Regions from separate parts of the Homo sapiens genome. Here regions 1, 2, 3, 4, 5 and 6 are each linked to region 7. Evidence: promoter capture Hi-C in 16 types of primary human blood cells and fetal thymus (Javierre and others, 2016). All regions are on one chromosome and are shown on one strand. Each heading gives the region's core, a stretch centred on a gene start or on the middle of the fragment in contact. The rest is flanking DNA. Distances are from core to core; before and after follow the strand shown.

Region 1 (3,846 bases), core at 245-2,744, 400 kb before region 7:
TAACTAACGACTATACCCTAGCCAAGTTGACACATAAAAATGTCCTGTAGGCATATTTTTTCCTTAAGCCCTGACAGGTTTGGGGGTTGGTGGTTCATTTTCCCAAGCCAGAAATGGAACTTCCTACTTTCTTTTTAACTTACATTTATTACTCATTCTTATCACCTCCTCATCTCCCATTACCACAGCCAAAAAAGATTTCAGGTGTTTTTCAATAGAAGGCATATATAACCTTTAAAGCAAAATTATAAATACAAGAGCCTTGAAATCAAAGGCAAGAAGATGGTTGAACCAATAAACCGATGTTGAAGCTAGTTACTGTATTTGAGCATAAAATTTAGCACTACATGGTGAGGATACAGTATAAAGCCACTTTCCTAGTGCCAAATTGTAACAGGAATTTAATCTATCTAAATACAGGGAGCAGTGATTTACATAATAAATGAGATAATTATTATTTAATAAAGATTTAGAGAATTCTCTAGATTCCTGTGTTCAAGAAGGAGGGCCTCAAAGCTGCCTGCAGTTATATTTTTATGATAATTATTTATTACTATCTCATGACTTAAAAATTTTCTTAACAAGTAAAATAACTACCTTTTAAAAAATACTGTAAGACCCTTTGCTATGACCTCAGATAATTTAAAGTGATGTCTCACAGACCTTTATTTAGACTGAAAGGCTTATAAAAATTTTGTGTGTGCCTGTAATCCCAGCACTTTGGGAGGCCGAGGTGGGCAGATCACGAGGTCAGGAGTTCAAGACCAGCCTGGCCAATGTGGTGAAACCCCATCTCTACTAAAAAAAAAAAAAAATACAAAACTACAAAAATTAGCTGGGCGTGGTGTTGGGCACCTGTAGTCCCAGCTGCTTGGGAGGCTAAGGTAGGAGAATCGCTTGAATCTGGGAGGCGGAGGTTGTAGTCAACCGAGATTGCGCCACTGCACTCCAGCCTAGGCGACAGAGCGAGACTCCATCTCAAAAAAAATAAAAAATGAAAACAAAAATGCAAAAAGAGAATCTTGTGTGTGGCTCACGTTACTCTAAATTAGACAGTTGGGGTTTTTAGAAATCTTAAGGACTTGTCCCATAGCAGTCTTATGTGAGGCCCAAGGTAGAGAAAGCCCTCTCCAAAGGGAATGTGGATGTGGCTTTTTGTCTCTTGGAATATATTAGAATTTGATAATATGAGAAACCCACAGAGTTTTAAAAGAAATTGTATTAATGTTGATTGAAAGGGTCAGAGATAATTAATAAGGAAAAAAGTGTACGGGCCCTCACCTACTGTGGAAAGGAAGCAGGCTGAAAAGCTACTCACCTCTTCACATAGGCCATTTCATGTGAAAGAATGATTGAGAGAGGGCAGCCAAGAAGCCAGAGAGTACAGCTAAGAGACAAGGAGAACTACTCTCAGGACTAATCAAGGAATGAGTGACATGTGCCCAACTGGACTTTAGAATTGCTATTGATGAGGGAGTGTTTATACCTCTTGTTTTCCCTCTTTTTGAATGGGAGTATCCATTGCAATTTCTATTCCTATCTCACCATCGTGTATTGGGCAGATAACTTGTCTCTTTAGTTCACAAGTCTTTAGATTAAGAGAAACTAAGTATGAGGAGTTGCACTCAGGAAACTGGATCTGAGAGGCCTCATCTATACCTGCATTTGATTTAGATTACATCCTGGACCTTAGGATAAGGCTTCTTGGGGTCTTGGAAGGAGTAAAGTATATTTTGAAAATGGAGGAGTATTCTGTGACAAAGTGAAGATGGCTACAAATTCTTAACCACCCTTTTCATCTAGAAGCATAGCATATTTCTTCATTCCACTGAATCTGGGCTGGGTTTCTCATTGCTTTAACCAGTATAATATGGTGGATGTGATGCTAGATCCGTTACAGGGTTGAGGCTCTGTCCTCTTTTAAGCGAACTGCTATGCAAGAAGTCTGACTATTCTGAGACCAACATGCTGTTCAAAGCCCAACTAGCCACTTAGAGAGAAAGAGACAGAGAGATGGGGTGTGGGGGTGGGGGGTAGAGAAAGAAAGAGAGAGATTGGTAGCACTAGATAAGGTGAATTATTTCATGGGCCTTTTAGTCAGCCCAGCCTTCAGCTGAAGACAGATGAGAGAGTGACTCAGCAAACAGTGTGAAGTGAGCCAGCAGACCTATGACCTCATTTGGGCTGTTCCAGCTTCTCGCAGCTGTTGAGCCACCCAGCTTAGACCCCAGACATTGTGGTATAGAGATGAACAGTTCCTACTGTGTGTTGCCCAAATTCTTGACCCAGAAAATTGTGAGCAAAATATGGTGATTGTTTGAAAACTAAGTTTGTTACATAACACAGATAACTGAAACACAAGTAGAAAAATTCTATCACCTGCCCAACCTCACAGAGCCAGTAAGAACTAGTGTTCTCCCCTTCCCTTTTATTTTTAGTTGACACATAATAATTGTACATATTTATAGGATACAGAGTAATATTTTGATACATATGTAATGTGTAATGATCAAATCAGGGTAATTAGTATTTCCTTACCATAAACATTTATCATTTCTTTGTGTTAGGAACATTTAAATCCTCTCTTGTACTTGAAAATGTACAGTAAATTATTGTAAATTATAGTCACCATACAGTGCTATGGAGCACTAGACCTTACTTTTCCTATCTAGCTGTGATTTTTTATCAGTTAACCTCTCTCTAATCTGTAGTAACCCACAATTATCTAATTCTCTTCCCAACTTTTAATAACCACAATTCTCCTATCTACTTGTATGAGCTCCACTTTTAAAAGCTCCCTCATATGGGTGAGAACATATGGTATTTTTCTTTCTGTACCTGACTGATTTCACTTAACATAACATCCTCTAGGCTCATCCATGTTGCCACAAATAACAGGATTTCATTCTTTGTTATGTCTAAATAGTAGGTCATTGTTTATATACATATATATACACTTTCTTTTTCTGTTAATCTGTTGATAGATGTTTAGGTTGATTCCATATCTTGATTATTGTGAATAGTGCTGCAATAAACATGGGGTGCAGATGTCTCTTCAATATACTGATTTCCTTCCGTTTGCATTAATAGCCAGCATTGGGATTGCTGGATTATATCTTCTATTTTTAGTTTTTTGAGGAAGCTTCCATACTGTTCCATAATGGCTGTACTAATTTACATTCTCACTAAAAGTATATGAGAGTTCCCTTTCTCTGCATCCAAAAAGACTATTGTCTTTTTAACAATAGTCATTCAAACCGAGGTGAGATGGCTTTCATTTGCATCTCCCTCATGATTAGTGATGTTGAGCATTTTTTCATATACCTGTGGCCATTTGTATGTAGAACCAATGCTTTTAATCACATGTCAAACTGCCTATGTCCCAGTCCTTTCCAGAGAGCCCTCTGGAACCCTTTTTCTATTGTAAACAAATTTATTTAAACCTACAGGTTTTCCATGGAATAGAAGTTTATTCCTCAGTACCTTGCATCTACTAGTTGGGCAGTTATGGTGAGCATATCTTTTTGACTTAATTCTAGAGTAATTATATAATTGGAGATAAAGCTGGGAACCATTCTTTACTTAAAAAGTCTCAAGTGGGACTCTCCTTGGAGTGTTCTCTAAAAACAAAACAAAAAAAATCGTTTTCTTAAAGGCATTTAGTTAGCAGAGCACAGCTGACTGAAAATTTCTTAAATACAATTCAGGATAGTTTGTATAAATAACCAAAAGGTAAATAACCAATGTAGTCCTCATGAGACATTAAAATTTTTTTTCAACTGAATCTCTCACTGCACTGTTAATTGGAAGTCTTCTTTCTTGACCATTCTCTAGAACAGAATACAA
Region 2 (3,675 bases), core at 1,045-3,544, 340 kb before region 7:
TTCTGTAATTAATATCTTCTGTTTTCTTTTTGTTCATTTTGTTTTGATATTTGGTCAGTCTAGTGAAAGTTTTATCATAAGACTTTTGGTTTAATTCATTTTTCTCTACTGCTTTTCTATATATTTTACTGAATATATTATATATAATATAATACTATAATATATAATAATATATACAAAGCTTAAGTTACTGATTTGGAACTTTTCTATTTTACTCTAAATGGTTAAAGCTATGAATTTTTTTTCTAAACCTGCTTTATCTACCTCCAATAAATGTAGATATGCTGTAGTTTATTTTCATTTACCTCAAAATATTTTCTAATTTCCCTTGGAATTTGTTTGTGATTTAATATCTAAATATTTAGAGATTTCTAAAATTTCTTTCTGTTTTTATTTATAACTTAATTCTGCTGTGATTATAGAATATATTTTGAAAGCTTTGGCAAACCCTTCAAATTAATTGAGACATTATATTTTCTAGCATTTGCTTAATATGTAGAATATCCATGTGTGCTTGATAAGAATGTGTATTCTGCTGATGTTAAATTCTGTATTTTATAAATGTCAAGATTTTTTTGATGGTGTTATTTAAGTTGTTTGTCTCTTTTCCAATTTCCTGTCTAGTTTTTCCATCAATTATTGAGAGAGAAGTATGGAAATTTCCAACTATTAGTATTAAATATTTTTCTCCTTTCAATTCTGTCCGTTTTTATTTTAGTACTGTGGGGGCTCTTCTGTTCAATGCATATGCATTTCTAATTGTCACATTTTTCAGATGTATTGGCCTTTTATAATTATGAATGTCCCTTTTGTCTCATAATTTTTCTAGACTTAAAGTCTATTTTGTCTAATATTGATATAGGCATTCCAGCTGTCTTATGGTTACTGTTTGCATGATGAATCTTGTTTTCCTGTTTTTACTTTAGCCTATTTATATCTATGAATCTAAAATGTGTCTCTTATAGATGTTATATAGTTTGATCTTGATTTTTATCCAATCTGATAATTTCTGCCTTTTGATTTGTGTTTCTTCCATTCATAGTTAATGTCACTATTGATATGGTTGGATTTGTAGCTTCCATTTTACTGTTTTCTGTCTCATAGTTTTTGTTGTTCCTCTTTTCCCTTTCTACCACCTTCTTTTCTATTACGTATGTTTTAATTATTTGGTTTTGATTTTTAAAAATAAAATTTAAAAGGCATTTTCTTAATATTTCTTTAGAGATTATAATACACAAGATTATAATTTATCTTATCATAGTTTACTTCAGGATAGTACTGACTTAATTCTAGTGGAATAGAACTGCTTTGATCCAATATAGCTTCATTTCTTTTCCAAATTTGTGTTTTTTCACATATATTTATATATTTTATAAACCCAGCAACATAATGTTGTAATTATTGCCTCATACAACTTTAAGTCTCTTAAAGAAATTAAGAGAGAACAGAAAAAATGTGTATTTATATAGCCTTTTATTTATATATTTACCATTTTTAGTGCTCTTCATTTCTTTCTGTCAATTTGAGCTGTTGTCTAGTATTATTTCCTCTCAGCTTTAAGGACTTAGGTATTTCTGCTTACAACAAATATCCTCCGTTGTTTCTCTGGGAATCTTTCATTTCACCTTTATTTTTGGAGGATAATTTTCCTGGATAGAGAAATGTTGGTGGATGGGTTTGCTTTCTTGTTTCTTTTAGCACTTCATTTCTCTGCCTTCTGGCCCTACTTATTTCTAATGAGAAGTCATTAATCATATTTTTCCCCTGGACGTGATTCATCATTTTTCTCTTGCTGCTTTCATGACTTTTCTCCTTACCTTTCAACAATTTGACTATGATATGTCTCAGTGTGGATCTTTTGGGTTTTATTCTAGTTGGCATTGGCTGAGCTTCTTGGATCCATAGGTTACTGTTTTCCATCAAATTGGGACATTTTCAGCCATTATTCCTTCAAATGTTTTTTCATCACCCTTTGTCTCTCTCCTTTTTTTCTAATTCCCATGAGATATATGTTGGTTCCCTTGATATCCCATAAGTTTCTCAGGCTCTGTCCACTTTTCTCCTGTCTTTTTCTGTGTTCTTCCGACTGGATGATTTCCATTGATCTATCTTCCAGTTCACTGATTTGATCTTTTGCTCTTTTAAATCTGCTGTTGGGCTTACTATACTGAGTTTTAAAATTTTGGTTATTATACTTTTCAAATCTGCACTTTTTATTTTTAAATAGTTTTTCTTTCTATATTGAAAGTTTCTATATGTTGTTCATTACTGTCGTGTTTTCCTTTAGGTATTTAACACAATTTTCTTTTAATTATTTTCATATATGTATAATAGCTATTTTAAAGTCTTTAAAGCCTTTGTCTGCTAAATTCTACACCTGGGCCCATTCAGGGACATTTTTTATTGACTGCTTTTTTTCCTCATTGTGGATCACACAAGTTTTTGTCAAAAATGTGTTTTTTAAAATAACATGTGGTAGTAGCTCTGGGTTTTGATTATTTTTTCCCTGAGGGTTGGTTTTGTTTATTTTTTTATTAAAAACTTCCTTTGTCTTAATCTATGGAATCTGTATCCCTCATGATATGTGACTACTGATTTCTCTGCTTAGTTTTTTCTTCTTATTCTAATTTTTATTTTTTAACCTGGTTTCCTAGGGATTGCCCTGTGTCTCTGTAGCTTAATTGTTATTTAATGATTGATCAGAGGTTGTACTCAAACACTGGGACCAGCCAGTGCTGATGGAACTGTGTGCAAATTGAGGAGCACATGCAGTATTTAGGCAGTTCGGAAGTCTGTACCAGCTTTAACTTTCCACTGGGCCCTCTTTCGTGTCCTTTGTGCTTGTCATTACCTCCTAGTCAGATTGCATAGCAAGGTGGGCAGACTGGGTGGCCTGGTGAACTTACGTAGCCTCTGTCTGTCTCATCTTCATTTACCCCATGCTATGTTTCTTGCTATACCACCAATGTGTTGCTTAGCCCTACCAAGGCCATAGCCTTAGACTGTTAATTTCTTTCAGCTTGCTTTTTTCGTTGACAATATCACTAATGAGTTTTTTGGCCTCCACTTCAAATCAAATCAGCCCCCTCTCATGTCAGCCCCTTCCAGAAGTGAAGCTGCTAGTTTTCATGACCAGCCCTACCCTGGTAGAAGTACTCTCCTGACTGAGCTATAAAGGAGTGGGAGCAGCCCCAGGCAAGAACATCTCTGACTCCCACTGTTTTTAGGCAGAGTTCAGTGGTTCGTCACAAATAAATGTTTCTTAATTTGTTGTTTATGACTGCTCGATTTCCAGAGCCATGAAATCATTGTTTTTGATAATTCTGTTCAGCTTCATAGTTGTTTCTTAGGAAGATTTCCTGACTTACTTCCACATCACCAAAAGTCCTGCCTCACATGGCAACTGTTAAAATGGCAAGTTCACGTGCTGAAGTTCTACTTAACAAGGAACCATTCTATAGATTCTTTGTACCATTTTGGTACAAATTTTGGATCTCTGGTAATCAAAACAATCTGTTCACCATGCTACCCAGTCAGCCCACCTTGCTATACAATCTGTCATCTTAGTCCTGTTTCATGTGAGGAATTTTACATTTCTGCAATAATTGCCAGTAACTTTTTTGTGTATTATTTTCTTTTGAATACCACATGGATGGCATCTGACACTGTTTGTAA
Region 3 (3,817 bases), core at 776-3,275, 430 kb after region 7:
GGTGACCTTGACACCATTGAAAGAATGAAGCCGATTACATGGCTGTCCTCTCACAGTTGATCTCCAAGTACAAGACTGTTTCTTGTCAGGCTAAATGCTCTCTTGCAATGATCTGTTTTAGATAATACCAAGAAAAGCTCTACAGGGTATGGGTCAAAGCACAGGTACTGGAGTCAGGCCGACCTGGGTTTGAATCCCATCTCTGCCACTTTCTAGCTGGGTAATCTCAGGAATATTATTTAATATATTAAGGTGCCTATTCTCTGTAACAGGACAATCAGATTTCTTCACAGAGAAGGGGAGGGAAGGGTTAACACAGCAAGGGAGATGAAGAATCTTGGGCACCATGCCTAACAGACAGCACTTGAGAATGGTAGCCATCTAGTAAAATTCTAGCAATCTTATCTGAGCACCTTCCAGAATAATGATGAGGTAGGGGAGACGGGGATGGGGTGCAAAGGAGATGGGACCACTTGTCCACAGACCTTGGAGTCAGTGAATTAAAGCCGAATCCTCAGGAACGGTATTTATTCCACACAGTGCAACACTGCCCTCTAGTGACAAAGAGGTGGAAAAGCTTTCAGAGCATGAGGCAAGCAAGGAAGAAAAATACATTTTTCCAGGCTCTAAGACAGTAAGTTCTCCAAATCAGAGAGATCATATCAAAGAATAATTTTTTCTCATGAGTCACCTTTAAAGCAGTGACATGGAGTATGAAGAGCAATATTATCAAGATTTACTACCAACCCAGAGGTTGTCACTTTGTTAATTATATAATATCTCAAATAGGAAAAACAGTAATTCTCTCTAGACATATTAAATGTGACACCTAAAAAGAAGAAAGTCTGAGTGTTCCAGGTTACTCGACATTATTCTGGTAGGACAGCACGGAGGTTTAAGATTCATGTATAACAGTTTGTAAACCAGATTTGATCACAGATTTGGTTAATGCAACTAACAAGGTCAAAACTTAAGGCTGAACTGGTATACAAACTTGGAAGGAATACTTACCATTTTTAACCTCTTTTCTCCTTGCAGAGCACCTAAGTGAGGCTAACAGTACCCTGGGTTGTTGTGGGGAGTAAATAAGAAAGAACACCGAAATGCCCAGCAGAGTGTCTAACACACAAGCAGTAAGTGTTAGCTGCTGCTATTTTTGTTGTTTCTGTTGTTCCAACTGCCACAGGCCCAAATGGAGGAAAAGCCATAAGATAAAATAACTCCTTTTACTTTTTTGGGTTAAAACCAAGGCTTACCTAGTTTCATTTCCTGATGCATCTACCAATCAAATGTATCATTTTATAACAAGAACATCTTAGCACAACTTTGATGTCCCTGAGATTATAATGCTAACTGAAGTTTGGTAATAGTTTAGAATTCAGATACTGATCTTTAATAAGGCAGAAAGATGATGCTGTAATCAAAACCGTCTGCAGAGACAAGACGTGTCACCATTTCTATCGTAAACCTACTATGGTCGTTTTAGGCAGTCTCTGCCCATCTTCATTCTTCTCAATTAACTTGGATGAAAAACATAATACTTTAAATTGGAAATTTTTTATAATAATTTTCCTCACTTAATTTTCATTTTTAATATAGTGATCTCACGTCCAAACATTTCCCATTTGATGATCACCGGGTAACCATGTGACCCCTTAAGCCAGTCCCAGACAACTATAATACATGCTTTCTAGTATTGTACAGTTCTTGTTTCAATATCCTGTAGTCACTTCTATATCCTGAAAAGGAAAAAAAGAAAAAGAAAACTGATACAAAGATATGTGATTACTGATGTCAAGGGTACATGCTAGAGAAGACCAGGAAGCAAGTAAGTGCTAGAAACCCACGTTCAAGGGTCCCACGTGCCCCATCTGCAGAAGGAAGAATGTGAGCTACACACCTTGTCATGGTATGGTCCTAAGACAATCCAGCCACAGAATGTGTAACCCAGATAAATCATACCAGCACAAGCACAAAACCGAAGAACTTTTGGCAGTGAGGCCTGCATTGTTAAAATCAGCACCTGAAAAAAAGAACAGAATGGGTGAAATGAAAAAGTAGCTATTAGAACCCAAAGAATAAATGAGTCTCAACTGCAGTGGCACTACCCGGTGCCGCATCCTTACATTATATGCCTGGAAATAACCCAGGTATCTGATGACTCCAACCCAAACCAAGAGCGTAGAGGTTCCAAGAAAAATGCTGCAGAGATCATAGTTTGTGAGATTCTAAGGAATGAAAAAAAAGAAAGAGAGAAATGAGTAAAATATTTGACTCCACTTAGCTTATTAGCCTTACATTAAACCAATTAATAAAAAAAGAACTATCTGCCTCCCTATAGGTGATAGAGTTTTTTTTTGAAGAAAAAAAAGAAGAAAAACAGATATAATTCCAAATATTTGTGTTTCTCATTTTCTTTTAGTATTTCAATTGGTTGAACTAAATTTTTTTCCAAATAATACTCTGAAATAGAAATTGTATTTAGGTTGAACTAAATTTTTTTCCAAATAATACTCTCAAATAGAAATTGCATTTATCACTGACCTAGGCATTCGAGGATACAAATTAATGGTGTTTGTTAAGTACCAAACAATACAATTCAGCTGCTTTTGAAAGAAAACTCCAGCATGATTTCCTAACACAGCTGCAGCTCTGAGGAAATTCTAGGGCTAGTTGAAAAGACAAACACACAAACATGATTCTCATATAATACGCTAAATGCAGTGAAAGACACAATGCCTAGCTCATCACAGAGGGACACCACAGACACGACCCCAGAGCAAAGACAGGCCTGCAGGACAGGCTGGGAGGAAGCACCACAGGTAAGTGGACAAAAGCTGAACAAAGGCACAATGCTGACAAGACGTCCTAGAGGGGCAGGGTCAGAGCAGGGGCAGGAGCAAGAGGCAGAGCTGGATGATGATGACCCCAGGGGCCATGCTGCTGAGGGAGGCCACTTCATCCCAAAGTAGGCCCCAAGAGGTAGAAAGGATGGTAACAGCTGGATAGACACTTCCAGAAAAGTCCCTCTGACAGCTGTGTGAATGGATCTCAGGGGTATGAAGTAGAAGACGGGAAAGCTGGTGAGGAGGCTGCTGTCACAGTTGGCCAGAAAGGAAGAAGCCTGAAGAAAGCCAGAGGGAGCCGGGATGGGAGAGAATTAGGCATGTCAGGGTTAGGAGGTGTGGCTGGAGGGACCTCTGACCAACAGCAGAGAATGGACGGGAGAATAGTGCGGTGAAGGAGGAGTTGAGGCTTAGTTAGGAGATCAAATCAACTAAGTTATACAAAGGGTCAGGCTTTAGCGGGCAGTCTGACATTCCTGCCCTCACCCCATCCGTCGGAGCACCCAATGGTCACAGATCCTCCCCACAAGCTCTTGACATGCAGGTTCAGGGAAGGGACTGGTTTATGGATAAGCTGCTCCTTTGGCAACTTAAAAAGAAAAATGAGGCCCAAATAACCAATCTTTTCAAGCTTAGTCACTATTCTGGAGCTGTTGCCAAGTTTCGTTCCATGGAACATCGGCTTCCTTTCCCTTCACGAGGAACCAAGCCAGGGGAGGCCTCACTTGTGCTGGTGTGAGAAAAGGGAAGACACGAGAATCAAAGTGGTCTCCAAAGGATGGTACGTCTTAAGATGCCTGTGGCCATCCAGGAGAAGATGAAGAACAGAGACTTTAAATGGGCTTCCCTCACCTTTGCTTTGATTTCCATTTTTAATATGGAGCCAATGATTGTCATTAGGTCGCTGATAATCACCAGGACATACCAGCCGTTGATGAACTCCCACTGGTCGGTGTCACACACAGGCCGCT
Region 4 (3,921 bases), core at 577-3,076, 420 kb before region 7:
TCAAGTCAGTTAAGATTTCAGGTTCAGTTAGCACCAAGCTTCAGAAAGGCAGGTGATTCCAGAGCTTATTTCTAAAAATATTCCAGAAGAATGAAGTTAGGCATAAAGATAATTTAGAAGGGTCTTGGTTAACTTTAACTATCTGGTGCCTGTATTGTACTCTACTGAACCTTTTCCCTCTATTAGAATTAACATTTTCTGGGGTAAGACCTAAAAGCTAGGTGAGATTCCATCTTCATCTCCACAGGTTTTGGAGATAACATTAACTTAGGTACCTGTTGTTCTGCTGTAGTGAATTAGGAAATTGTATTGATGTATCTCAAAACTTAATGAAAGAATAACTGGTACTATTACATACCTAACTGCTCTGTGTGTGTTTTTAAAATTACTCTTGAAGATATATTCCTTTTAAAATTTGGGCGTAGTTATTTAAACGTCAGCTAATACAGAGAAACATAAACTTTTAGAAATATGATAAAATTCTCAGAGAAGTTTTAAACTCTTGTCAGTTAAGTTTGTTTTACTTATCCAGTCTCTTCCTTTTACACCAGCCCCAGTCACCAACACACCAAAAAAACACGCTACTTCTTTTAACCTGGGAGGGGTTTTTATTTATTTCATTTTAAAAAAATACTATACCTCCAGGTTGCCTATGGGGCTTTGTGTTATACATTCATTGCAAAAATGTTGAGGCCCATGGGTGAAAAGTGTTGGTAGAGGTTTGAATGTAGATTCTTTCATGACTGCAAGTCGTAAAGTTACCATGTGACCTAGTGTTCGCATATGATCTTTGAATGTTTTCCAGAGTATCTCTCTGTCCTGTGGATTTGAAAGTCAGTAGGAATTAATCAAAGAAAGCCACCAGTAGACTAGGTTCAACAAAAATGCAAGTTTCTTAACAACTAACATTTTTTGAGGACTAATACGTGCCAGGTTCTCTAATGCTTTCCGTGTATAAACTTTTACTTACTCTTTTAAACTGTAAAGCACTTGAGTTATTCCTTCATTTATGGATGAGGAAATGAAGGCTCAGAGAGCCTAAGTGACTTGCTTAAGGTTGCATAGCTAGTAAGTCAAGAAGCAACATTTAAGTTGAGGCAACTGTAACCTCAGAACCTGAAATTCTAACCACTTTGCTGAACAGCCTCTGTATCCAATAGAATAGCCGATGCTAAGACACACAGAATAGCTTAGACAATTATAGCACATTTCAGTTTTCAAACATGACTTTATTTGGTATATTAAAATCTTAAGTGAAAAAGATTATTTTTTTCTTGTACCATTCTCTGGATTTTTATCATCATTATCTTTTCAGATTCAATATAGTAGAATTTCAAATTAAACCACATAAAACTAATTTTATGTACTTAAAGCCTTAATTACTACAGTACTTATATTTATTTTTTCCCATTTGTAAATGTATACTTTTCCCTTCTTGCCCAATAGTTGATAAAAAAAATTATTATTTGAACTTGTATTACCATTTTAAAAGTATTGGCAAATTCTCATTTCACCATGATTAGAGTAGCGCTGTCCAGTCAAACATTCTGTGATAATGGAAGTGATCTCCACCTATGCTGTCCACTGTAGTAGCTACTAGCCACATGTCTGTTGAGCACTGGAAATGTGACTAGTACCACTGAGAAACTGAATCTTTAACTTACATGTGGCTAATTAGTGTTTGGTATATTGGACAACACAGGTTTAGAACATAGTTGTTTTTGCATTTAATAGAAATGCCAACCCATCTTTCTGTCATCTTGGTTATTTGTGGATCCTTACAAGTGAGTGTAGATGAACGGAATGCTGGATTTATTTTTTCTCATTTAAGAATTAACTTATTTCCTCAGAATAAGCATTTATAAACTTAGTGAGCAAATTATTATAGTTCAATAATTTGTGTTTAATTTATTAACTACAAAGTTAAATTATTTTTGGGGCTGTACTAGAAATAAAATTTTGTGATTTTTAGTAATCTCAGTGAATATCTTCTATTGAAAAATTTCTGTAGATTTAAATGCAATATAGTGATTTCTTATACCTTACTTAGGTCTTTACACCTTTCAATTATCAAAGGAAAATCAGTAGCAGATATTTGTTCCAATTCTGTAGAATGCAGAGGTACTGGGGAAGTCTTTCTTGGGTGTAAGACAAAAAAATCAAAGCAATCAGTTATGCAATTTTGATGATAAATACATATGATCTCATCGAGTTCCATGATTCTGTGATTCTGTTTGTGCAGATTGTGTACTGTATCAAATTATCTCATGTTCAGGAACCATTTTTCTTATTCTCCTCCTCTTATTCTCCTCAGTGTCCTTCACTTAGGCTGTAGACAGATTGTTGCTTTTTCATTGCCAGCAGCAGGATAATTAGAGGCATGAAAGCCAGCTTAGAAAAGTAAGCCATGGCTGAGTGACAGAAGCAGCACGTGAGAAGGTCCTAGATAAGCCAGGATAGCTATTAAGATCCTGTCAGATAATTAATAGTTGACCATAATTCATTTTGACATTCCATTAAATTAATTTTTAAAAATTAGTACAACTTATGAAGTTCTATATCTAGGTGATAAATGTTTGTATACGTGGGTGATCAAATTTCCTCAGATTAATAAATCCTAAATTCTTAGTGAATAACATTGTGTTAAATAGAAAAGTGTGAAATTTATGAAAGGTAAATATGCTTAGGTCACTATCATTTTGGGTATTTAATCTTACTTTTAAATGTATTCCTTCAAGAATGTCCTGTATAGTTCTTTGTTCATTGCTTCATTCATTCCTTTATTCAGTACACATAATTGAGCTCCTAAAATGTGACAGACTCTACACAAGACTATGGGAATAAAGATTGAATAGGACAGAGTACCTGCTCAGGGTGCCCATATTCCAGAAGGGGGAAGATAGACATGTCAGCAAACACATGAAACCTGCCACAAATCCTTTCATTAAAGTTCAGCTGGGGAACCAAGGGAAAGAATGGTCATTTCCACTGGGATGGGGAGGAAGAGGTTCAAAAAGGACTTCAAAGAGGAGTTGAACCATGACTTGAGCATTGAAAATGATAAATGTTCATCAGATGGATTATAGGAGGAAGGGTGTTCTGAGTAGACCGAGCATTGATAAGTGAAGATGCAGAGGAGTGAAACCATGTAACATATTCAGGATAAGGAAGTAAGTTGCCCATTATGATTAAATGATGGAATGTGGGGTTGGTGATAGGAAGAGGGGACATTGTATAATGATAGATGAAACTGAAGAAATGGACAGAGGGCCACATAATGGAGAGAGTTTGAATTTTATCTTTTAGACACTAGGGAGCCATCGTGCACTTGGAAATAAGAGAGAAACATGATACAATTTGGGTTTAAAAGAGGTTACTTTGGTGGTGATGTGAAGATAAATCATTATGGAGCAAGTGGAATAGAGGCAAGATCAATTATAAGACTCCTATGATAATTTGGGTGAGGGATTTTGAGGGTCTGAACCAAGGTGGTAGAGGTTGGGATGGAGAAAAGGATCTGAAATGGGAGAAATTTGAAAAATTGAGCAGAATGTATTGTACTGATTGCATGTGGGAAATGAGGAAAAGGAGGATTGGGGATGACACGTTAAGTTTAAGCTTCAATGCCATGGTAGATGGGTTGTAACGCCAGTAATAGAGTCAGGAAATGAATACAGAGGGCAGGAGTACATTGGGGGTTGGGGTGGGGACTTACTGAACTCGGGATACCCGTGGCATTTCTGATAAATGATAGCTGATTGGTTATTGTATGTGTGGATTGTCTTTTATCTCCCAGCCATGGGGGAAAATGCCCTTGGATGGTCAAGGGACCTTTTCTACATTTTATCCTCATTTTACTCTTTTCAAAGACAACTGTTTAGAAACTATGGAAACTATAACATCTGGCATAACTTACATAAG
Region 5 (3,656 bases), core at 1,109-3,608, 410 kb after region 7:
ATACCTGCTCTACCTAGCATGGGGCTATTGTGAGGATAAAACTAAATAATATACGTGAAAGCCCTTCACACACCTTTTAGTACTATGTAAACATATGGTGTTATTCTTATTTTGAACCCATGCTCCTATGGTGGATTGTTAGTATTAAAAGTTTTACCCGCCACTTCTTAAACATGCCTGTAATATCTCACTTATCTGTTATTGTACACTTTGTCTAACCTTTAAGAGTAAAACTACCATCATTTATACATTTACATAAGTAAATGGTAACGGTAAAAGAGTTCACACCATTCACCTTTCTATCACTGAACATGCTACATATATATCCAAAATGAAGAAAAACTAGTGTTAAGTGTTTAGTGTAAAAAATGATTTTTCTTAGTAATGGGTTTTGGAGCTCTTGCAAGCATGAGACCAGAATGTCTTGCCATGCCTTGCTATGGTTTTAGACAGGGTCTCATTCTGTTGCCCAGGCTGGAGTGCAGTGGCGCAATCTCAGCTCACTGCAGCCTCTACTTCCCCGGCTCAAGCCATCCTAGCACCTCAGCCCCCAGGTAGCTGGGACTACAGGCATGCATCACCACAGTTGGCTAATTTTTGTATTTTTAATAGAGACGGGGTTTTGCCCTGTTGCCCAGGCTCGTCTAAAACCCCAGAGCTCAAGCAATCCTCCCACCTCAGCCTCCCAAAGTTCTGGGATTACAGGCATGAGCCACTGCACCGGGCCTTATTCTGAATTCTTGAGATGGCTGACATGAGTTAGAAAATACAAAACAAACAAAAAATAATAATAAAAGAAAGTAATTGGGACACTAATAGAGTCATTGGCCAGAAGTCAGTGGGAAGCGTGGTCCCCATGCAGATGGAGTCTGAGTGCATCAGCCAGGACAGCGTATCAATTATGCTCCTCACAACAGGAGATCAGGGCGGTGCATTTCTATAACCACCACAGCAATGGAGAAGCCGGACAACACCGTGACTGGGATGAAAATAAATGTCACTAATGAGAGGCAGACCAATGCGTGGATCTCTGGATATAATATGACACCACACTGCTTCTGTGGTATTCCTGCCGAAAATGCATACCCTGAATCTAATAATGAGGAAACACCAATCCAGATTAAGGGGCTATCCGTAAAATAATGACCAGTATTCTTCCAAAATCTCAGTCATGAAAGACAAAGAAAGGCTGAGGGACTGTTCCAGATTAAAGGAAACAAGAGGTGCGACAACTAAATTCAACAGTGACCCTGGATTGGATCCTGTGTGAGAGGGGAAAGAATGCTATAAAGAGAATTGTTGGGACAATTGATGAGCTGGATTATGGACTGCAGATTTGATGAAAGCATTGCATCAATATTAAAGTTCCTGAATTTGAACACTGTGTTGTGATTACATAAGAGATTATTCTTGTTCTTAGGAAATATGCACTGAAGTTGCATATTTATGCAACTTTTATGCCCTTTATGCCTTATAATATTTGTATTATACCCCTTTCATAATAGTATATGCAATCTTCTCTTGAATAGTTTAGTAAAATAAATTCTGTAAATCAGAGAGAGAATATGAAGGGCATCTTCTGAAAGGTACAGTAATTGAGATGCATGTCCAACTGCTGATTTCACCAATGATCAAATACTGCATCAAGGCATGAAAAGTACATGAGTGGTATTAAAACACATTATTAACACGGACTCTCTTGGCTTCTAGCCAGTGAAATGAAAGAGGTGCTGAGTCCAGATTTTATGAGGTAACTATCTTTTAAAAATCATGATTTGGTGATTCATTATTGCACATGCCAGAAACTCCACCCCAGTGGATGCAATTATCTTTTTTTAAAAAAGCTAGTTAGATAAGATTATAATTGTGGGCAAGCTGACTTGGATTCATTAACCAATACTGCCACACTGGTTTACTGTAAAGGGGGCAGAAAGGAGGGGATAATCGGCTACTAGTGTATATTTTCAGCTATAGAAATTTAAAAATAGATAGTAGGTCAAGAAGAACACACCAAGACATTTGAGATGTTCATATCAAACTAATTTTCATAATTCTTGCACAAAAAACAGGCTTATTACTTTAAGTTTTCTCTCCATTCACCCAATGTGTCCAGTTTATCCTTTTCAAAGCTTGTTCACGTTCATTTACTCCTAGATATTACATCAGCCTTGTGAACTACCCAGCTGTAAAGACAAGCTGCCCACTCAGGCGGTTACTACTGTGTAACCTTGGACAAATTACGTAACCTTTCTGCACTCTCAGTTTTATTATCCCTGTATTACAGATAAGGATTCTGAGACTTGGAGCAGCTTAACAACTTGTCTAAATCACTAAGCAATTTAGTGTTAGAGCTGGGAACTTCTATGGGGCTTTCGACTCCCCCACCAAGGTAAAAATTATTTTCCATTGAACACCAGCATTATTTGAGTTCAAGGAATGTTGCTTAACAAGGTGTTGTTTGAAAATAGAAGTCACATTTCTCATTAAGTAGGCTAAACATTTTTTTCTGCCATTCAATTCTATTCAATAAGCATTCATTTGGAAGGCAGGCAGCGGAAAGGGAAAAATGGAGAAGGCTTTGGAGTCAGAAGCTTTGGATTTGAATCCAGGTTCTCTACTTACTCTGTGTTCAATTTTCTTTTTGGTAAAATGGAGATCCTGTTATGTAATCTGTATGTTTGCTGAGATGAGTGGCAACAATAGATGGACATAGTGTGCATTCAACCAAATATAGCTTTTTAAAAATATGTTATTTGTTGATAGCCTGCTATTCACCAGGAACTTTACTAGGCACATGAAACACAGAGACAGAAAACAGTCCTTATGGAGGGGGCTCCAAGAATTAGTAACGGTTCTTTCTTTTTTTCTTTTTTTCAAGACAGAGTCTTGCTCTGTCACCTAGGCTGGAGTGCAGTGGCACGATCTCGGCTCACTGCAACCTCCACCTCCCAGGTTCAAGCAATTCTCCTGCCTCAGCCTCCCAAGTAGCTGAGATTACAGGTGTCCACCACCACACCCGGCTAATTGTTATATTTTTAGTAGAGAAGGGGTTTCACCATGTTGGCCAGGCTGGTCTCGAACTCCTGACCTCGTGATCTGCCCGCCTCGGCCTCCCAAACTCTGGGATTACAGGCGTGAGCCACCGTGTTTGGCCTAGTAATACAGTAAGCATACTAAGCCAGCCATATATGCTGCAATGGTTTTTTCCTTGGTGTGCTTTTTGGTTGTATGTATGTATTTATTTTAAGAGACGAAATCTCACCCTGTCACCCAGGCTGGAGTTCAGTGGCACGGTCACAGTTCTCAGTAGCTGAGATTACAGGTGTGGGCCACAATGCCTGGCTAATTTCTATTTTATTTTTTGTAGAGAAGGGGCCTCACCATCTCGCCCAGGGTGGTCTCGAACTCATGAGTTCAAGTGATCCTCCTGCCTCAGCCTCCCAAAGTGCTAGGATTACAGGCATGAAATACTATACCCAGCCTCTCAATGTGCTTTTTAAATTGTGTTTACGTTCTTACTTTTCTAAAATGTTTTGTTTTTATATAATAAAATATATTTGGTTATTTTATGGTTTTGTGCAGCTTTTTTTTTTTTTTTTTTTTTGGAGATGGAGTCTCCCCCATCCCCCAGGCTGGAGTGCAGTGGAGAGATCTCG
Region 6 (3,634 bases), core at 172-2,671, 390 kb before region 7:
TTTCCCACTGCAGCATATAAGTGTAGAAGGGATTCTTTTTCAGGGTAGTAGTTTAGACCATCATTCTTGAATCATTGAGACCTTGGTAGTGTTTCCTATATTGGAATACTGAAGTCTTCTCTGTTTTTATACTCAATATGCAAATTACAAGAAAGTACCCCACCTCCATCTATAACACAACTTTATGTCTCAGTAATAACCAGGATTAATCACTCAAACAGAAGTAACTTTCCTTTTCGGCCTGTATTTTTCAGTGAAATGTGACCAGAATGCCCAGCTGGCACTCTAAACTTCTGGTTCAAGGGATTAATTGTTACAGGTACTCCCCATACTTGAAGAGTACTTCTAAATTCATATTTCTTGAAGAGTACTTCCAAGGGTATTAAAATGTCTCAACTGTTAAAGAGTCCAAAGTTACAGAGACAAGAAGTAGAAAATTTTCAAATGGGTAACTTATCATACTATAGTTCATTAATTTTGACATACATACTTTTGTCTCACATTTTAGTGTATTCGAAATTAGGATGCTTCCTAAAATGATGACATCAGTCAGGCAATTCTTGTGATGTGCTTGTTATTGTCTATACATGCACAAACATGAAAATGCGTATCAGCAGGTTGGAAGAAAATATAGGAGATGGTAGTAGAGCGCCTCAAAAAATACTGTATCAATATTTTTGATATAAAGAACAATAATTGTGTAAAAACACACAATAATGACTGTGCATCAAAAAATAGTCTGGAAGAGTCAGACTATGAATATGAAAGCATTTTAGGAATTTCTTAACAAGTTTAAAATTTTTTTCACTTCATATGTTTACAAGAGTGATATTAAAAAGTTATGTCTAAATAAATCAAAAATAGTTCTCTCTTAATAGGGAAAAAATTTATAACTGACAAAGTATCTCATAGTTTAATTGCTGTACATTTTTCTTTTTTTTCTTAGTGGTACATGATATAATGGTGATTTTTATAATTGATAGTCATAGATTCAGTGAAATAGGGTGGTGATATCTACCACTCCCACCTCCACCTTCTGGTTCCCAGATACTTGTTTTTTATGGTTGAAGAAACACCAGGTAATGGTCCCTGAGAAGTTTCTTTTGTGTATGAGCTACAAGATTTCAAGACTTTTCAAATCTTGATCTTAGGTAATTTTTGAAGTAACAATAATCACTAATAGTTTGTCTTTAATGTTCTTGTACTAGCTATCACGAGTTTTATGTATCTTTGTTATTGTTACTATTTTGTGTCAATTGCCAAGAGACTTAAACATCTTTTCTAACATGTTCATATTCTCTTGATTAATTACATTATGAAACAACATGCCTATTCATTATTTTTATTTGGAATTTTTCCTTTTTTCATGATTTAGTGTATTTGTTACAAAAAATAACTTGAATTCACTTTTCTATATAGGAACATTTTTATTGATTTTATGTCTCCTCTTTATAATCTCTTTCATATTTCATTATGTTTCTTCTAAATTTATCTTGTTTTTTTAATACATAAATTTGAAGATGAAAAAGGAGGTACTCCTCATATACATTCATGTATTATACATATATATTCATATACATATATATGTACACATTCAAATCACAAGTCTGTCATTTTTAACTTTTTAATTGAAAAATCCCCAAACTTCTTGCCAATCGTAGCTAAAACTGTACATTACCCCTAAACTTTCCCTTATTCAGATCTCTAAAATGCCTGGTGCCACTCCATTAGCACCTGACATAATGGAAAGTGTGAAGAAGGGGAAGTTGGAGAGAAAAGAGACAGCAATCTCAACCAATTGCTATTAAAATATCTTACTTTTGCAAGTCTTACAAAAGCATGTGTCCTTGTGAACACAATGCTAGAATCTCTCCCAGGGTATTAGAAGGGTTGCCTGCACTTGAGAGGTCCTGAAATTTAATCTCTGTTAGCTTCACAGTAAACCTGCTGTGGCCCTCAGATTTCAGTTCTCTTTGTGAGAGAAGCCCTCTCCTCTGGCTGGCAATTTATGATTCCCTTGCACACACTCTCTTTTCTGGGGTCTATAGGACATAAATGTATTTTCCCTGCTATTCCAAGTTGAGCCCCCTCTCAACATAATTCTTTTCACTCTGCCACTGAGCAGAGGTGGTTTTATCTACCATTTAGTACCTTTACATTTTGTACATTTGGTGAGTCCCCCCAAAACAGTCCCTAACTCTTATAAATCCTAGCAGATAGGGTACATGTTAAGTCTCTGAGTGGTTTCCTTGAAGCCCCTCAGTTGATTTGAGGTAAGGGTGACCTCCTGCCCTGAATGTGTTGCATACCTCATAACTGCTCCAAAACAATTCTCTCCAGCACTCTTCAGCCTCTCCCTCTGATGTAAATTGGCTAATGTTGGCAGATCTGGCTTTAAAATCTAGTTTCTGTGGGTGGTTTTATTTTTCATTTGGGAAGGCTGGTCACCTGATAGAAAAATAAAAATAACCATGTTAAGACAAATTGGTGTTTTAGCTGTCTGCTTAATTGCTTTTGGCCTTCAGTTTTCTCTTTGAAATCTTATACTCAATTGAGCAAATGTTTCTCAGTTGAGGGTTTATGTGTTCTAAGTCCTGTGATAGGTACCAGGAATGCAGAGATAAACAGATCCATTGTAAACAGTCAAATGTAATAGAAGAATCATATGGCTAATCTGCCATATATTAAGTCATAGTGTCTAAATTGCATTAAACCAGCTCAATATAAGAACAACTGTTTTCTTAAAAGTTATATGAGATTTTATAAAAGATTTTACCTTGCCATTATATAGTAATTATGATTGAACTTACCAAATTAAATGTAATGTGACGTTTACTAGTATTTTTCCATTAAATTGTTAGTGAATTAAAAGGACGTTTTGGAATTATATGGGGGATCTTTGGAAGACTTAATTTTTTCATGGGTTGTATAAATAGATTTATGAGAGGGAAAATGGATATTAGTTTCTGATATGGTAGTTTATGTGAGAATTTTATAGTTTGATTTGTATAAATAAAATAATGTTATTGCATATTTCTGGTACATTACACTTTTATTTGTATAATAACCTAAACTTGTGTTTATCTTATATTGCTAAAATTTAAGGTAATGACAATAAAAGATTTTTCTGGTATGTATGTGAAGCCTAAATGGCCCCATTCTGCCACCTTCTGGCTGACTCCGTAGCTTATAATATTGTGAGGTAAGTGTCATCTAACCGTTCTGCCATGGTTGGCAGCAGACCATATATTTGGGGCCTGGGTGATTTAAAACAGGGTCAGTTTAAGCAATAATGTAGTTCTAGTGCCTCAGGCTCACCTTTATTTCATAGTTCTAAAATGTGTTAGAATTTATTGGAATAGAATACCACATAGTGATGTATGAGATTGTTTCTCCCAGGGTATGGAGTTGTAGTTAATTTTGACTTTTCTGCAATACTAAAGTTTCTTCAGATATTACTTGATAATTAAAACTGTATCAACATGGTAAGCTATTTATCAGAATCATCATAAGAAAGTTACTTGGAGAGTGATATAGAAATGAAAGTTACTGAAATCAGCACCAATTCCTTATAGAGAAACTAATGGGTTCAGTAATCACTTACTAGAGTTCTAAAATAAAAGGAGAAACCATA
Region 7 (3,822 bases), core at 267-2,766:
GGAGGATCCTGCACCAAGACGAATGAGAATTTCCCTTCCCTTCTGAGGTGACCACAACTGAGTAAGCTAGGTCTCTGACACTTCTAGTTAAGAAAGCTTAGAGACCCTCTCAGTTCACAAAACATTTCGGCAAGTAATAAAGACTAGCCTGATGAGTATAAAATCAAATCATCTTAGGAACTGGCTGCTTTTAACAGGGCACATGATTTACATTCTTGTTTCTTTTTTTAACTGCAGAAGTGTTTCACATGTAGCCTGACCTATTGTACCAGAAAGAAGCCAATCCATTTAGGACTGTAAAAATCAGGAAATACTTAGAACAGCACTTGAATGTCAAGTTATTCTATCAACACAGACAAAAGGCTTTTTCTCCCAAAGTACCCCAAGACAAGGCCAATACTAACCAGACGCCAAAATAAGACCAATAATTACCCACAATAATCATTTTCTCCGGCATGCGGACCAGTCGATATCCCCAAGGTCAAATATGAGCAAACTGTGCCATAGGTATGAAATGCACGCTTTGTTCGAGGTTGTACGGGGCACTGACCGGAACTTTACACTCCAGGATCGTTTCGAAAAATGCTTATTCAATCCACAGTTTAAGTTATGCAATAATTCGCTTAAAAGTATGTGTTCAACGGACAAGAGAAGTTGAAGGTAAGAATTTAATACTAAAGGAAGTAGGTTTGGGAAAGATCAAATGGGAGAAAAGTCTGCTCTGAATCAAAAGTCGGAAAATACCCTGTCCGATGAGAAACAGGAGGCTGGCAAAGTGGGAAAGGAAGGGTGCGGACAGCGCGCGGAGGCGCAGCTGTTGGTGAGACCAGCCGAGAAGGCTGCCAAGGGAGGTAGAGACGGAGGAGGACCGGAATGTCGGCCACGGTTCAACCCAGGGGCCAGCCCGCCTCGGAAAGTCCTGGGGCGGAAGGGCGAACTAATCGTCCCCCTAAAACACAGCGTAGACCCACGCGGCGCCTGCTCTAAAGCTGGCCGCTCCCCGATCGCCGCCGCTGAGCGCGCGTCCTCTCCAGGGGAAGCGAGGGCCGGCGCGTGTCCCGCCCGCCCCCGCCAGCTGGGCCGCCGGATCCCACCCGCCGCCGCCGCCTTCCTCCCGCCTCGGCCGCCCGCCCCCGCTCACTTTTACGCGGTTGAGTCCGGCCTCCAGCCGGAGCTGTTGAACCACTTTCTTCATAGCGGCGACGCTGGAGGAGCCAGACATGGTGCACGCGACGGCCGGGCCGATTCGTGGGTCGGTGGGTCGTGGGCCGTGGGTCGGCGGGGCCAGACAACTCAGCGGCGCGCGGCGGGGGCGGGGCTCCGAACTTTGTCTCTAAGTTTCCGGTTCTGTGCTCAGCGGCTCCACCCTCGGTGCGCATGCGCGCCTTGCCAGCCCTCTGTTCCAGCTCCACACCCGGCCCCGAGCGCGAGCCTGGAGGAGGGGGAGGAGAAGGGGCGGAGCAGTCGGTGGGCGCGGCGGCTGCTGGAGGCTAGCGCGACCCGACTCTTAAGTTTTCTTTTCCTCTCCAGAGGGGCCGATTAGGGAGAGGTAAGGAGAGAGCTTACCGTTAGCCGCGAAGAACTAAGAGGGGGTCTGAAGAGGACCAGGGAGGGAAGGCAGAGCTTGTGGGAGTTTCTAAAAGGCCCGGCGGCGGGTGACCAGGAGGTCTCAGTTTTCCTCCCAGTTTGTGGGAAGGGTTGAGGGAAGTGAGGGGAGATACTGGGTGAGGCGTAGGAGCTACTGTGCACCCGGCGTGAGTCACCCGCACACCCCCGCCCCGTACAGGCGTGTCTCTCTGTGACCCGAGTTTGGCCAACAGGCATTTTCAGTTCCACCCCCAACCCCCAGCCCCGCTGACCCGAGGCGGAGAGCAGGCGCGGAGGTCGCTGTCGCGTACCCAGCGGAGCCGGGCGGGCGGGGAGCAGGGGCGCTGATTCGCTGGAGAAGGGATCTTCTCGAGGTTTGACTTTACTGGCTTCTTAGCTCTTGAATCGGTTTTTCTGAAGGAGATTGTGAAGAAGCCAAGGTGCTGGCTGAAGATTACACCTGTCTGCTCGGTTACCCATTTACTCTGGAGAATTAATGCTTATTGTACTTTTTAAAATAAAACTTATTTTTGTGTTTCCGGAAAGTTTGCTCTTTAGTATTTCCGTTGTAATTTATTACCTCCTGCTTGAAATTGAGTACCAAAGGAGTTTTTAGGAGAGAGGGTAGGGTCTAACCAAACAAAATAGGCTCAGCCAGTAGGTCTTTCTTTCATCCACGGAAATATGTGTGTTATGTCACAGCACTAAGGGCAGATGTTTCCTATTTCTTTTCGGGTAGTCAATCTCCGAATGCGCTGATGTTTTCCATTAATGTTAATAATTTTATCATTAATGGATTTCAAATTTTTTATTAGGGAAGCATGTGTAATTGCACTGGTCAACAAAATCTAATTTATTTACTCAACAGTTTATATCAGTTCGCAAAAATGTACATCGTAAGTTTAGCATTTTACTTAATTCATACGGATGTAATGATTGGGGTTAAAACCAGGGTTTGAATTCTGGCTCTGCTACTTACGGTATTCTTGGGCAAGCCACTTAAGTTACTGAGGCTTTATTTCCTTATTTCAAAGTAAATTATACAGCTTCGTAGAGTTGTTTTTCGGAATGAAATGACATTATATGTAAAAAGAATGTGAAAGCTATCTCAATAAATATTGTCTTTTCCCAAAAGGTATTGTAATTATTTCACCTTTGGTGCTTTGTTGACTGTATAATGCTAAAACGTCATTCATACTTTACAGATTTGTAAGATTAAACACAAGTATCTATTCAAAGAATGATCTGTTTTACAGTAGTTGTAAAATATATCACTGAACTCTTAGAACCGTGGTATGTTAATGCTGGAAGAGATTTTAGGGAATATATGGTCCAATAATTACTTCTGTGAGGGAGACTGTTGAGGAATAAGCAGTGTTTTAGGCCGAAACAGTTTCAGAAAAAAAAAAAATTGTTGCTTTTTTATTAACTGCTGCATTGGGAAACCACAGACTGGAGTGCTGTCTCAAACACCAGGTGTTATTTTTTTGTAGCGTGTGTTTAAAGATTCTATTTAGGATACAAAAGAAAAATAAAACATTGAGGCCTGGTATGGTGGCTCACGCCTGTAATCCCAGCACTTTAGCAGGCTGAGGCGAGCAGATCACGAGGTCAAGAGATCGAGACCATCCTGGCCAACGTGGGGAAACCGTCTCTACTAAAAAATACAAAAATTAGCTGGGCGTGGTGGTGCGCGCCACCCAGGAGTCCCAGCTGCCCAGGAGGCTTGATGCAGGAGATTCGCTTGAACCTGGGAGGCAGAGGTTGCAGTGAGCCGAGATGGCACCACTGCACTCCAGCCTGGCGACAGAGTGAGACTCCGTCTCAAAAAAAAAAAAACAAAACCATTGAGATAACTTTAAGTTCAGTTGCATCTGAAGTGATTACCAGTAAATATAGTTTATGAACTATCTGTATCTCTTAAACTTTTGTTTAGATGTTCTTTGACCTTCCACAATGATCTAAGACATTTCAAACATGTTACCAACTGTACAGACATAGATGCTCACTGTTCAGTTGGTTGAAGACTGGCCTGTTGTCACCAAGAGGATTCTTTTAGCAATAAATGCCAAGAAAAGACCACCAAGTAATCTGTCACTTTATGTTTTGTCAGCAGAGCACTGTCAATTTAAATTTACCTGAGATCTTCACCGTATTCAATTAATTAGTACCCTAAGTTCTTTAGTTCACTAGGTCTAAATTCAGAATTTGAATAAATAAGAGTCACATGCTGTA

Evidence for each region. Contacts are between HindIII fragments. The CHiCAGO score rates a contact against its expected background, and 5 or more counts as called.
Region 1: a contact is called between a fragment that was not itself captured here and the fragment with the promoter of SPATA1 in region 7, in 1 of 17 cell types (erythroblasts). The highest score is 8.9, in erythroblasts.
Region 2: a fragment that was not itself captured here is called in contact with the fragment with the promoter of SPATA1 in region 7 in 6 of 17 cell types (erythroblasts, total CD8 T cells, monocytes and 3 more); the score reaches 7.5 in erythroblasts.
Region 3: a contact is called between a fragment that was not itself captured here and the fragment with the promoter of SPATA1 in region 7, in 6 of 17 cell types (M0 macrophages, M2 macrophages, M1 macrophages and 3 more). The highest score is 7.9, in M0 macrophages.
Region 4: a contact is called between a fragment that was not itself captured here and the fragment with the promoter of SPATA1 in region 7, in 1 of 17 cell types (naive B cells). The highest score is 5.5, in naive B cells.
Region 5: a contact is called between a fragment that was not itself captured here and the fragment with the promoter of SPATA1 in region 7, in 1 of 17 cell types (M2 macrophages). The highest score is 6.1, in M2 macrophages.
Region 6: a fragment that was not itself captured here is called in contact with the fragment with the promoter of SPATA1 in region 7 in 2 of 17 cell types (erythroblasts and M2 macrophages); the score reaches 5.5 in erythroblasts.

Annotation. Positions count from the first base shown.
Region 1 is chr1:84,101,407-84,105,252 of GRCh38, forward strand. It overlaps a transcript of PRKACB not described here. Among named protein-coding and RNA genes, the nearest start is that of PRKACB, 41 kb to the right of the region's middle. The HindIII fragment of the contact is 3,291 bases long and covers 1-3,140 here.
Region 2 is chr1:84,160,414-84,164,088 of GRCh38, forward strand. All of the region lies in intron 1 of PRKACB (protein kinase cAMP-activated catalytic subunit beta), which reads left to right. Among named protein-coding and RNA genes, the nearest start is that of PRKACB, 18 kb to the left of the region's middle. The HindIII fragment of the contact is 3,718 bases long and covers 436-3,675 here.
Region 3 is chr1:84,935,855-84,939,671 of GRCh38, forward strand. MCOLN2 (mucolipin TRP cation channel 2) reads right to left here. Exons shown (of 14, transcript NM_153259.4): 9 at 3,699-3,817; 10 at 2,127-2,228; 11 at 1,901-2,023. Among named protein-coding and RNA genes, the nearest start is that of LPAR3, 45 kb to the left of the region's middle. The HindIII fragment of the contact is 2,900 bases long and covers 576-3,475 here.
Region 4 is chr1:84,081,106-84,085,026 of GRCh38, forward strand. It overlaps a transcript of PRKACB not described here. Among named protein-coding and RNA genes, the nearest start is that of PRKACB, 61 kb to the right of the region's middle. The HindIII fragment of the contact is 3,580 bases long and covers 37-3,616 here.
Region 5 is chr1:84,911,512-84,915,167 of GRCh38, forward strand. No RefSeq gene overlaps it. Among named protein-coding and RNA genes, the nearest start is that of LPAR3, 20 kb to the left of the region's middle. The HindIII fragment of the contact is 462 bases long and covers 2,128-2,589 here.
Region 6 is chr1:84,119,823-84,123,456 of GRCh38, forward strand. It overlaps a transcript of PRKACB not described here. Among named protein-coding and RNA genes, the nearest start is that of PRKACB, 23 kb to the right of the region's middle. RefSeq lists an enhancer at 3,093-3,242. The HindIII fragment of the contact is 5,287 bases long and covers 1-3,634 here.
Region 7 is chr1:84,504,870-84,508,691 of GRCh38, forward strand. It overlaps SPATA1 (spermatogenesis associated 1), which reads left to right and starts at 1,517. Exons shown (of 14, transcript NM_001397487.1): 1 at 1,517-1,549. It overlaps GNG5 (G protein subunit gamma 5), which reads right to left and starts at 1,712. Exons shown (of 4, transcript NM_005274.3): 1 at 1,567-1,712; 2 at 1,142-1,432. The coding sequence starts at 1,222. RefSeq lists silencers at 978-1,107, 1,358-1,437. The HindIII fragment of the contact is 7,618 bases long and covers 95-3,822 here.